Regions from separate parts of the Homo sapiens genome. Here regions 1 and 2 are each linked to region 3. Evidence: promoter capture Hi-C in 16 types of primary human blood cells and fetal thymus (Javierre and others, 2016). All regions are on one chromosome and are shown on one strand. Each heading gives the region's core, a stretch centred on a gene start or on the middle of the fragment in contact. The rest is flanking DNA. Distances are from core to core; before and after follow the strand shown. Region 1 has its middle 25 kb from the start of SLC25A52. Region 2 has its middle 65 kb from the start of SLC25A52. Region 3 holds the start of TTR (transthyretin).

The links. The method cuts DNA at HindIII sites, captures the fragments that hold promoters and counts their contacts. A CHiCAGO score of 5 or more calls a contact.
Region 1: a contact is called between a fragment that was not itself captured here and the fragment with the promoter of TTR in region 3, in 3 of 17 cell types (megakaryocytes, fetal thymus and M1 macrophages). The highest score is 7.5, in megakaryocytes.
Region 2: a fragment that was not itself captured here is called in contact with the fragment with the promoter of TTR in region 3 in 1 of 17 cell types (M1 macrophages); the score reaches 5.4 in M1 macrophages.

The regions. Positions count from the first base shown.
Region 1 is chr18:31,733,801-31,737,351 of GRCh38, reverse strand. No RefSeq gene overlaps it. Among named protein-coding and RNA genes, the nearest start is that of SLC25A52, 25 kb to the left of the region's middle. The HindIII fragment of the contact is 1,897 bases long and covers 916-2,812 here.
Region 2 is chr18:31,824,270-31,827,808 of GRCh38, reverse strand. No RefSeq gene overlaps it. Among named protein-coding and RNA genes, the nearest start is that of SLC25A52, 65 kb to the right of the region's middle. RefSeq lists enhancers at 404-949, 950-1,495, 1,496-2,041. The HindIII fragment of the contact is 3,609 bases long and covers 464-3,539 here.
Region 3 is chr18:31,589,479-31,593,126 of GRCh38, reverse strand. It overlaps TTR (transthyretin), which reads right to left and starts at 1,250. Exons shown (of 4, transcript NM_000371.4): 1 at 1,156-1,250; 2 at 101-231. The coding sequence starts at 1,224. The HindIII fragment of the contact is 4,728 bases long and covers 1-1,830 here.

The DNA of each region.
Region 1 (3,551 bases), core at 615-3,114, 140 kb before region 3:
AGATTCTCTTTTTCATTTAACTTGTAACAGAAATAAGCCTCAATGAAACAATTTGGACCTGAATTTTTCATGCTGAGGAATAGGCCATTTTGCTAATTCCATAATCATATCAACAAATAAACAAATTAGTGTTTATTCAATTTGTTAGAAAATTTGGGATCTCACTTGAGCAGCTGGCTGTCTTTGCTTGCCAAATTAATTGTAATGAATGATCTAATTTCTTAAGTAAATGAATTCGAAAAAATGTTGGATTAAATAGGTTTGTGACTAAGTGGTAGAATTATTAGGTTACCCTATGTTCTGTTAACAAGTATCCTGGAAACTGCATTTTGGAGTCTGGAACTCTATTAACAAATGTCACTTTATAGTAAAGTGTCCTTTGGTCATTAGTATACTCCCAAAATTAGCTGAATGAAGCAATTTGAGTATACTCTAGCAGTTTGAACTTGAGGGCCAATGCTATATTTGATACGTAAGCATGGGACTGGATTTTCACTTCCTATTTTTGAAGGCATGTCTTGGCAGCACAGGCCCTATGCACTTGGCCCATCCAGTTTTGATCATATTCAGCTGTTCCCATAAACAGAGAAAGCCCCATGGCCTTTCTGGAACAGCCTGTAGTAATAAGACATGACCTTAATATGTGCTACTCTCAGATCACGTCTTTTGAAGAACCTAAGCACATTTATAATCAAAATAGAAAAGGATATCAAACAGGCTTTTCCCCATAGTTAAACTACATATTTATTTCTCTTACTTTACCACATTATCTGTTATACTCCCTGCAATGACTGTTGACCATTAGGGGTAGTAGACAGCATTCTTCTTTTTTCTATTTTAATGAAAATAATTTGTGTTTATTTGAAATGTTTATGATTGATTTGTAGGAAATAAACTTCAACATGTTTGGAAGCTTCTCTTTATCTTAAATGAGTTTTAAAGAATGCAAAAGTGTCTGGTTGAATTTGTAGCTTCAGTTATTATGATCATGTTTTTATTCTCTTTCCATTTCTTAAAATATTAAATCATGTTCTTCCAGTGCTCGAACTATTCTTGAATTCCTAAATTAAATCCTATTTTGTTAAATTGATTATTTAATATATTGTTTGATTTGATTTGCTGGTTAAAAAAATATTTCTGACCTATATTCCTAAGTAAAAGTGATATTCCGCTGGGCATGGTGGCACACACCTGTAATCTCAGCACTCTGGGAGGCCAAGGCAGGAAGATCACTTAGGCCAGGAGATTGAAACCAACCTGGGCAACACAACCAGACTCTGTCTCTACAAAATAAAAAGTGATCTTCAGTTGTCCTGTGTGTGTGTGTTTACTTTTTATTGATTTTTTCCCCAGCTTCATTAAGATATAGTTGACAAATAAAGTTATATATATTCAAGGTATACAATGTGATATTTTGATATATGTATACACTGTGACACCATTAAACCAAGCTAATTAACATATCTATCACTTCACATACTTAGTTTGTGGTGAGAACATTATAAAATCTATTCTCTTAGCAATTTTCAAGTAGACAATACATTATTATTAACTATAGTCACCATGCTGTACAAGAGATCCCCAGAACTTCATCCCTCTGTCTAACTGAAAATTCGTACTCTTTGACCAACATTTCCTCATTCCCATCCCAGCCCCACTCTGCCCCAGCATCTGGCCACCAACATTCTACTCTCCACTTCTATGATTTCAACTTTCTTATATTCTACATATAAGTTAAATTATGCAGTATTTGTCTTTCTGTGCCTGGCCTATTTGACTCAGCATAATGTCCTCCAGGTTCATCCGTGTTGCTGCAAATAACAGGAATTCCTTCTTTTTGCCTTTTTTTTTTTTTTTTTTTTTTTTTTGAGACGGAGTCTCGCTCTGTCGCCCCGGCTGGAGTGCAGTGGCATGATCTCCGCTGACTGCAAGCTCTGCCTCCTGGGTTCATGCCATTCTCCTGCCTCAGCCTCCTAAGTAGCTGGGACTACAGGCGCCTGCCACCACGCCCAGCTAATTTTTGGTATTTTTAGTAGAGATAGGGTTTCACCCGGTGGTCTCTGTCTCCTGACCTCATGATCCGCCCACCTCGGCCTCCCAAAGTGCTGGGATTACAGACGTGAGCCACCGCACCCAGCCAGGAATTCCTTCTTTTTTAAGGCTGAATGGTATTCCATTGCATAGATATATCCCGTTTTCTTTATCCATTTATCTCTTGACAGACACTTAGGTTGATTCCATATCTTGGCTATCATGAATAATGCTCCAATGAACATGGGAATGAAGATATCTCTTTGACATAATGATTTCATTTACTTTGAATATATACCCAGAAATGGAATTGCTGGATCATATGGTAGTTCTATTTTTACTTTTTTGAGGAAGCTCCATACTGTCTTCCATAATGGCTGTGCCAAGTTACAGTCCCACCAACAGTGTGCATGGGTCCTGTCTTCTGCACACCCTTACCCACACTTACTATTTTTTGTCTTTTTGATGATAGCTATACTAACCAGTGTGAGGTGATATCTCTTTGTGGTTTTAATTTACATTTCTGTGATCATTAGTGATGTTGAACATTTTTTCATATACCTGTTGGCCACTTGTAAATGTCTTCTTTTGAGAAATATCTATTCAGGTATTTTGCCTGTTTTAAAATTGAATTATTTATCTTTTTAATATTGAGTTGTTTCAGTTCCTTATATATTTTGGATATTAACCTCTTGTCAGGTATGCAGTTTGTAAATATTTCCTCCCCTTTGGTAGGTTGCCTTTTCACTCTGTTGATTGTTTCCTATTCTGTACAGAAGCTTTTAATTTTGATGCAATCCCATTTCTCTCTTTTCACTATGTTGCCTGTGTATCAAGGGTCATATATGACCAAAATATCATCTCCCAGACCAATGTCTTGGAGCTTTTCCCTTATGTTTTCTTTGAGTAGTTTTATAATTTCAGGACTTACATTTAAGTCTTTATTTCATTTTGAGTTGATTTTTCTTTATGGGTGAGACAAGGGTCTAAGTTCCTTCTTTTGCATGTGGACATCCAGTTTTCCCAGTACCAATTATTGAAGAGACTGTGCTTTCTTGAACGTTGTATGTTCTTGGTACCTTTGTTGAAGATCAACTGAACATAAATGCATAAACTTATTTCTGGGGTCTCTATTATATTCCTTTAGTCTATGCATTTGTTTTTATGCCAGTACTACGCTGTTTTGATTACTATAGCTTTGTAGTATAATTTGAAATCAGGTAGTATGAGACCTCCAGCTTTCTTCCTTTTGCTCAACATTTCTTTGACTATTTGGAGTCTTTTGTGGTTTCATAGGATTCTCTTTCTATTTCTGGGAAAAATGTCATGGAATTTTGATAGGCATTGCATTGAATCTGTAGATTGTTTTGGTGCCAATGATCATTTTAGCAATATTAATTCTTCCAATTCATGTACATGGGGATATCTTTCCATTTATTTGTGTCTTCTTCATCCTTTCATCAGTGTTTTATAGTTTTCAGTGTACAGGTCTTTCATCTCCTTGGTTAAATTTACTCCCA
Region 2 (3,539 bases), core at 1,019-3,518, 230 kb before region 3:
CTTGGTAGCTAGGCCAGTATTTTAAACACATGCCTCTAAGATACAGTGATTTGTTCAAAGACTACTTTTCTACTTCAAGGATATTGAAATGAAAATTGAGTTTCTAGTAGCGCATTTGTTCAGTTAGGTTAAACACTTGATAAGGCTGGGGTTGACAATCCCAGCCTGCCTATCAATTTTATTATTTCTTGGCTTTTGATCAGAACTATGAACTCTTACAAGCTTTTGGTGTTGGTTGGCCTATTTTGCCATTCACAATTACTAGGTTATTTTGGGCCGATACATGTAGTCTCTACTAGGTATAGGTAGATGAGAGTTATAGAGAGGATGACCACATAAGTTTTCATCCCAAAAGAGACATTTTGAGAGTGAAAGAGGGCACTATTAACAATTACAATTATGGGGACAATGGGATAAACTGGGTCTGTTCTGGGCACCAAGCTGTAGGGGCCAAGGGAAAGCTTCCCCTCTGCCTTCAAAAGGTTCACTGAAAATAAACTGACAGCAAGCTGATCATAGAAGAAGACATGTGAAACTTATTTAACCTGCTTAAGCACAGGGGAGTCACATGAGAACAATTTCCCAGTAACCCAGTGAGATCCAGATGCGTACTACTTCATAGAAGAAAGGGAGATGGAGGTGTGGCAATTTTGAGGAGTAGTAAATGATAATTAGTGGGAGTGAATGGACCTGGAGGCAGTAACTTGTAAATGACTCTCTGGAATTTCAATGAGCCCAAGAGGCAAACATTGTCAGGCCTCTGAGACCAAGCTAAGCCATCATATCCCCTGTGACCTGCACATATACATCCAGATGGCCTGAAGCAACTGAAGAATCACAAAAGAAGTGAAAATGGCTGGTTCCTGCCTTAACTGATGACGTTACCTTGTGAAAATCCTTCTGGCTCAGAAGCTCCCCCACTGAGCACCTTGTGACCCCTGCTCCTGCCTGCCAGAGAGCAACCCCTTTGACTCAACACCTTTGACTGTAATTTTCCAAATCCCGTAAAACTGCCCCCGCACCATCTCCCTTCGCTGACTCCTTTTTCGGACTCAGCCCGCCTGCACCCAGGTGAAATAAACAACCTTGTTGCTCACACAAAGCCTGTTTGGTGATCTCTTCACACGGACGCGTGTGACAAACATTATCTTGTGTAAAAGTCTTTCCAGGTGTGGTTTCATTCCTCAGTCTTTTCTGAGATAGAAAATGAGATTTCAGAGAGGGAAGAGGGGGCAGTCCCTCTGGTGAGTCCAGTCTTAAGGTAGATAAAGGACTATCAGAGAAAAACCTTATCCTGTGCTTTAGGAGAAATAGGGCTGGGGTAGAGTCAGTGTGGAGGTGGGAGGTAGAAAGACCTTGAGGCTGCTGCTTTAGTTCAGCATGTCAAAGGGCCATATTTCGGGGTATCATATTCCGAGCCTCATGTGGTAGGAGTTATTAATAAATTATTTCAGGCAGATAGGAAAAGGGGTCCTTGGAAAGTTGTTTCTTTTTTTATTATTATACTTTTAAGTTCTAAGGTACATGTGCACAACGTGCAGGTTTGTTACATAGGCATACATGTATCATGTTGGTTAACTGCACCCATCAACTCACCATTTACATTAGGTATTTCTCCTAATGCTATCCCTCCCCCAGCCACGAAAGTTGTTTCTTTTAAAGCAGCTAAGTTGTTTCTTTTAAAGTAGCTCCAGAAACCTTTCTCATCTAGCAGGAAAGCCCCAGGTCTTACAGCTGGGCTGCCAACCTTTGATATGCAAATACAGTCCATTAGAAACTGGATCCCCCCAAACATGGTGATTCCCACCGTTGTTCTCTTGCCCTTGCTCCCATGTGCCTGGCAATGTGGCCACCCCCACATATCCCCATGTGTGTAGAACATCACGGTGCCCTTCATTTGCATATTAAAAGGCTAGGGTGGGAGGGCCAGTTTTTGTGGGCTACATGAATGACATGCCTGGTCAAACCAATCCCTTGAGCCCTATGCAAATCAGACACTGCCTCCTTCAGCCTCCTCATATAACTGGCTGGTATCCACCGCACTTGGGGGTCTCCTCTCTCGGCTTTGGAGTCCCCCTCCCTCTGTCTCTATACGGGGGAGCTTCTTCCCTCTGTTTTCTCCCTTCTTTCTTGCTTATTAAAGTCTTCACTCCTTAAAAACCACTCCACGTGTGTCTGTCATTTCATCTAATTCGCGTGAGACAAGAGCCCTGGTGTTCCTCCACTCATCAGTGCTGTATCACTAACACTGGGATGTGTATTCACATCCACTACAGCTCTCCTCCTCTCAGGCTGTCTACCCACTAGTATGTTACAATGAGTTTGGCCACATATACAAATACTTCATATTAACAAGGCAATCATATGATTACTTAGATGCTTGGGGAAATTCCAATTCCCTACCTTTTGGCAGAAGGGGTCACTCAATTCGGATATGATGGACAACAAGGAATCAAGGGACAGAACCCTCTGATAGCTTAGTGACCAGAACCAGGACTGAATTTTAGCCTTGGGTGGAGCATGCCACTCCAATGGGTATGTTACAGGAAAAGGGTTCCGATCCAGACTCCAAGAGAGGATTCTTGGATCTCTCCCAAGAAAGAATTCAGGGCAAGTCCACAGTGCAAAGCAAAAGGGAGTTTGTTAGGAAAGTAAAGTGAAAGGACAGCTACTCCATACATAGAGTAGGACGTTCCCGAAAGTAAGAGGAGGAACACATCCATCCTAGGTACAATGCTTGTATATGTGGGGAGATGTGTTCTGCCACAAGGGTTTGTGTTAAAGAATTAATTTTCTTAATTACTATATTTTGCAAGAATCGTTATTATCATCTTTAAAGCAAAATTAGGAATGTCTTTGTTCTCCAGACATCAGGATATCGGGACATTCCCAAGTCTGGGTCTGTTTTAGTAAGCATTATTAATTTGTTCCCTTAACTGTAAATGTCTAGAGGCTAGGAATGCCTGTTTTTTCTGAGAATGCGGCCTAGCCAGTCTCAGCCTCATTTTCCTAAACCTCACTCAAAATGGAGTCTCTCTGGTTCAAGTTCCTCTGACAGGTATGGGCTACTGGCCTAACTAGATTTTTTTTTTTTTTTTTTTAAGACAGGGTCTCACTGTGTCGCCCAGAGTGGAGTGCAGTGCTGTGATCTTGCCTCAATGCAACCTTTGCCTCCTGGGCTCATGAGATCCTCCCACCTCAGCCTCCCAAGTAGCTGGGGCTACAGGTGCATACCACCACGCCTGGCTAATTTTTGCATTTTTAATAGAGACAGGATTTCACCATGTTGGCCATGTTGGTCTCAAACTCCTGGCCTCAATTGATCCACCTGCCTCAGCCTCCCTAAGTGCTGGAATTACAGGCATGAGCCACTGCACCCGGCCCCTAACTAGATTCTTAAGCCACTTCATCCAAGCATGTAGGAGTTTGTACAATATCTCTGGTCAAACACCTAGTTTGAACACCACTCATATCTCCTTAAAGTTATAAATCAAAAATAAAATTCTAAGCCCCCAACCGACTGAACAGACTTTTAGGCT
Region 3 (3,648 bases), core at 1-2,500:
TGTAAATTCTTTAGCAGATGATGTGAGCCTCTCTCTACCAAGTGAGGGGCAAACGGGAAGATAAAACCAAGTCCTGTGGGAGGGTTCTTTGGCAACTTACCCAGAGGCAAATGGCTCCCAGGTGTCATCAGCAGCCTTTCTGAACACATGCACGGCCACATTGATGGCAGGACTGCCTCGGACAGCATCTAGAACTTTGACCATCAGAGGACACTTGGATTCACCGGTGCCCTGGGTGTAGAGAAGACACGTGAGAAGTTAACAAAATTGATCAGAGTGAAAGGATTTATTCTTTGTGGTATTAGAAATCTGGAGCGAAACAAGAATTACACACTGATCCCATTATCAGGAACGTAAGTGTCGACAATTAATGAGCTTCCCTACTCAGTATAACACAGACGTAATTGTTTCCAAAGCAAGAATGGTTTCTGCCTCCAGACACACTGCTATCAACCAGGGATGTGTATAATGAATTTTAAGGGAGAAAATAGGTCCCCTGAGAACAGTTGCTTTGTTAAAAGTCTCCATTTGAGTGGAATTACTGAAAAGATGTAATGTACCATACATAGGGCCAAACAGGTTTTCCTGAGATCATTTTAGTTGTTGCTATAGTCACTCCCTCTTACCAGTTGTTATAAAATAATGTCAGAACTACATCCAGACCCATTTTATAGTATTAGTTAATTCTTCTAGAGGATTTAAGAATTAGATATCTGACTAGAATATTGTTCACTAAGCCTTTTAAAGATTAATCAATAAATACGTTTTGAATAACTATAGGGCCAGAATATAATCTCCTGCAGTTTGTCCCCCAAATACATTTTATGGAGGGATACTTTTCTGAAAATTCAGTATTAACAGCTTCCTTAATATCATATCTTTATTTCTATCATCTATCTGAGGAAACAGAGGTACCAGATATTACAAACCTAATGCACCAAAGCAATGAGGTAGAATGCTCAGAGTTCAAGTCCCAGCTCAGTAAGCTCAGTGGAACTTCATTCTTTTTGAAGTTTGAATTAATTATATTAAAAATAGATGCTGGGTACCCTTGCCCTAGTAATAAAAGCTGGTTGGCAAAGCTGGAAGGAGTCACTTCTACTTCATTTAGCGTGAATCTTAAATGTAGGAATGGGATGTCACAGAAACACTCACCGTAGGGCCAGCCTCAGACACAAATACCAGTCCAGCAAGGCAGAGGAGGAGCAGACGATGAGAAGCCATCCTGCCAAGAATGAGTGGACTTCTGTGATGGCTGCTCCCAGCCTGGGGCTTTTATACTCACTTCTCCTGAGCTAGGCTGCTTATCCCTGCCAATCTGACTGCAAACCTGCTGATTCTGATTATTGACTTAGTCAACAAAGAGAGAATAAGTAACCCATACAAATATGAACCTTGTCTAGAGAGATTAGAGCATCGGAACATTCGTTCTATGAAATATTCTTAATAGGTCATTTGACCAGTTAGGTCACCAAAACAAAACAACCAAAACAAAACAAAACAATCAAAACAAAACAAAAATAGTCTTCTCCCTGTGTGACTGCGTGCACTAACATTCTTGGGGGTAATTTTTTCCTCCCTCACATATTTCTATGCATGTTTTCCATTTTTATAGATTTTTTGTCTCTCATTTTAGATGCAAGATTTTAGACAGATGCAAGTTGTAATAATGTATTTCATGTTGAATGACATCTAGCTGCACAGGCTTAAATATAGTGCATTAGAAAATGTTTGCACTTGATGGATCCATGGGTCAACAAGGAAAAACCCTTGGCAGTGCTCACATTTTTAAAAGCCTACATTTTAGCCAAACTAAGTCATTTGGAAGCTTTGCTTAGTCAGCAATTTCTCCACAATGTGTGTGTGCATGTGTGTATGTGTGTGTGTGTTCTGCCCAGATAAAGTCCACTTCAATCTAAGAATGGCATCTTCCCTCCCTCCCTTCCTTCCTTCCTTTTTTCCTTCCTTTTTTTTTTTTTTTTTGACAGGGTCTCACTCCAACGCCCTGGCTCGAGTGCAGTGGCACGATCACAGCTCGCTGCAGCCTTGACCTCCCGGGCTCAGGTCATCCTCCCACCTCAGCCTCTTGCCCAGGCTGGTCTCGAACTCCTGAGCTCAAGCAATCCACCCGCTTTGGCCTTCCAAAGTGCTGGGATTACACGTGTGAGCCACTGAGCTGGGCCAGAATGGCATATTTCAACCTGGCATTGATGCCCCTGAAATACAGAGAACCAAATCTTCTTTACTGACTCTTCTGCATTGGGCATGCAGGAACAAGGCTGACAGCTGGTTTTTGACAGAACCAAACTTGCTGGAAGAAAGTAGAGATGACTGTGAGAACCAGAAGCCATGATTGACAGCAGATTCTTTTCCTCCTGGCCGACTTATTAATACAAGTCCAGAAATTATGATGATTTGATGATTCATTACTCACATACAAAGTCTCTGTGTGTATGTGTGTGTGTGTGTGTGTGCGCGCGCACGCGCATGTGTGTGTGTGTCCACTAGCATGCGTGGCTTTGTTCATGGATAAACTAAGGCAGGTTTTTGTCCTTATAAGACAAACATGTAGAAAACATAGAGAAGACAAATATTTTGGACAAATACAAGCCAAGAGCAAGTCCGGTTTGGAGCACTAAGAATTGAGGGAACATTCCCATAACTGATAGAGTCAGATTAGAAAAAATTCAACAAGAAATTGTGAAGCACAGGAGCTTACAGGGAGTAGTGGAAGGGACAGAAAAGCCTTTCAGGAACATGAGAATGTGCAGGAGAGGACTCCGGGAGGTGGGTTGACCCCTCACAGCAATGAGCAAATGTAGTTGAGACCATAACTAGGAATGGAGTCTTAGACCCTTAGAGTTTAACTAGGAAGCAGCAGCAGAAAGACTTTTGCATTTGGAGTTGGATGACCAGAGTCATTCGATCCCAGTTCTGCTGCCCCGTTTCCCGGATGACCTTCTATGAGTTATCTACTATCTCAGATACTCGGCCAACTCGTTTGTAAAATAGAAATGCCTACTTTTCTACTTCAAAGGACTGTTCTAATAACTTTTAATATGAGAGGATGTACAAGCCTTTTGTAAGCTGTAAACCACTATCTTGCTGTAAAAGCATAACTAATAGAATTTGGTTCAACATCTATGCCTCAGGAGAGAATCCTTTCTCAAATAACATCTTTCATATATTGTCATCCAATATCCTCTTGATGATTTCCTATTGTTCAGAACCTGGATAGAGAGCCTTTTCTCTGGCTATGAATCATAAATATTTGGAAGTTCTTTCATAACCGAAGCAAAATCTACTGTGCACGCGTTTCAGCACTGCACCCTGTTGAAACTAAGAATCATCTCTTGTAGACCCTGTGAACTGGCAACGCTGGGCTGCCATCAGCCCATAGATATGTTATATTTGGGCTGCACAGAGTCTCTTTAAACATTTTGTAATAGTTGCCAAAATTAAAAATTGAGACATGCTGCATAAAAATTTGCATTTCTTGCTTCTCTTAAATCAAAAATATTGGCAGCTTTAGGCCAACATTTACACATGACAGTGATCATCAGAATGTCACTCTCAGACATCAAGACTCCCCAGGCCTCCCCGCCAACACTGAGGCTAGGTGATTCTCTAGTGGCATATCATGCGTGA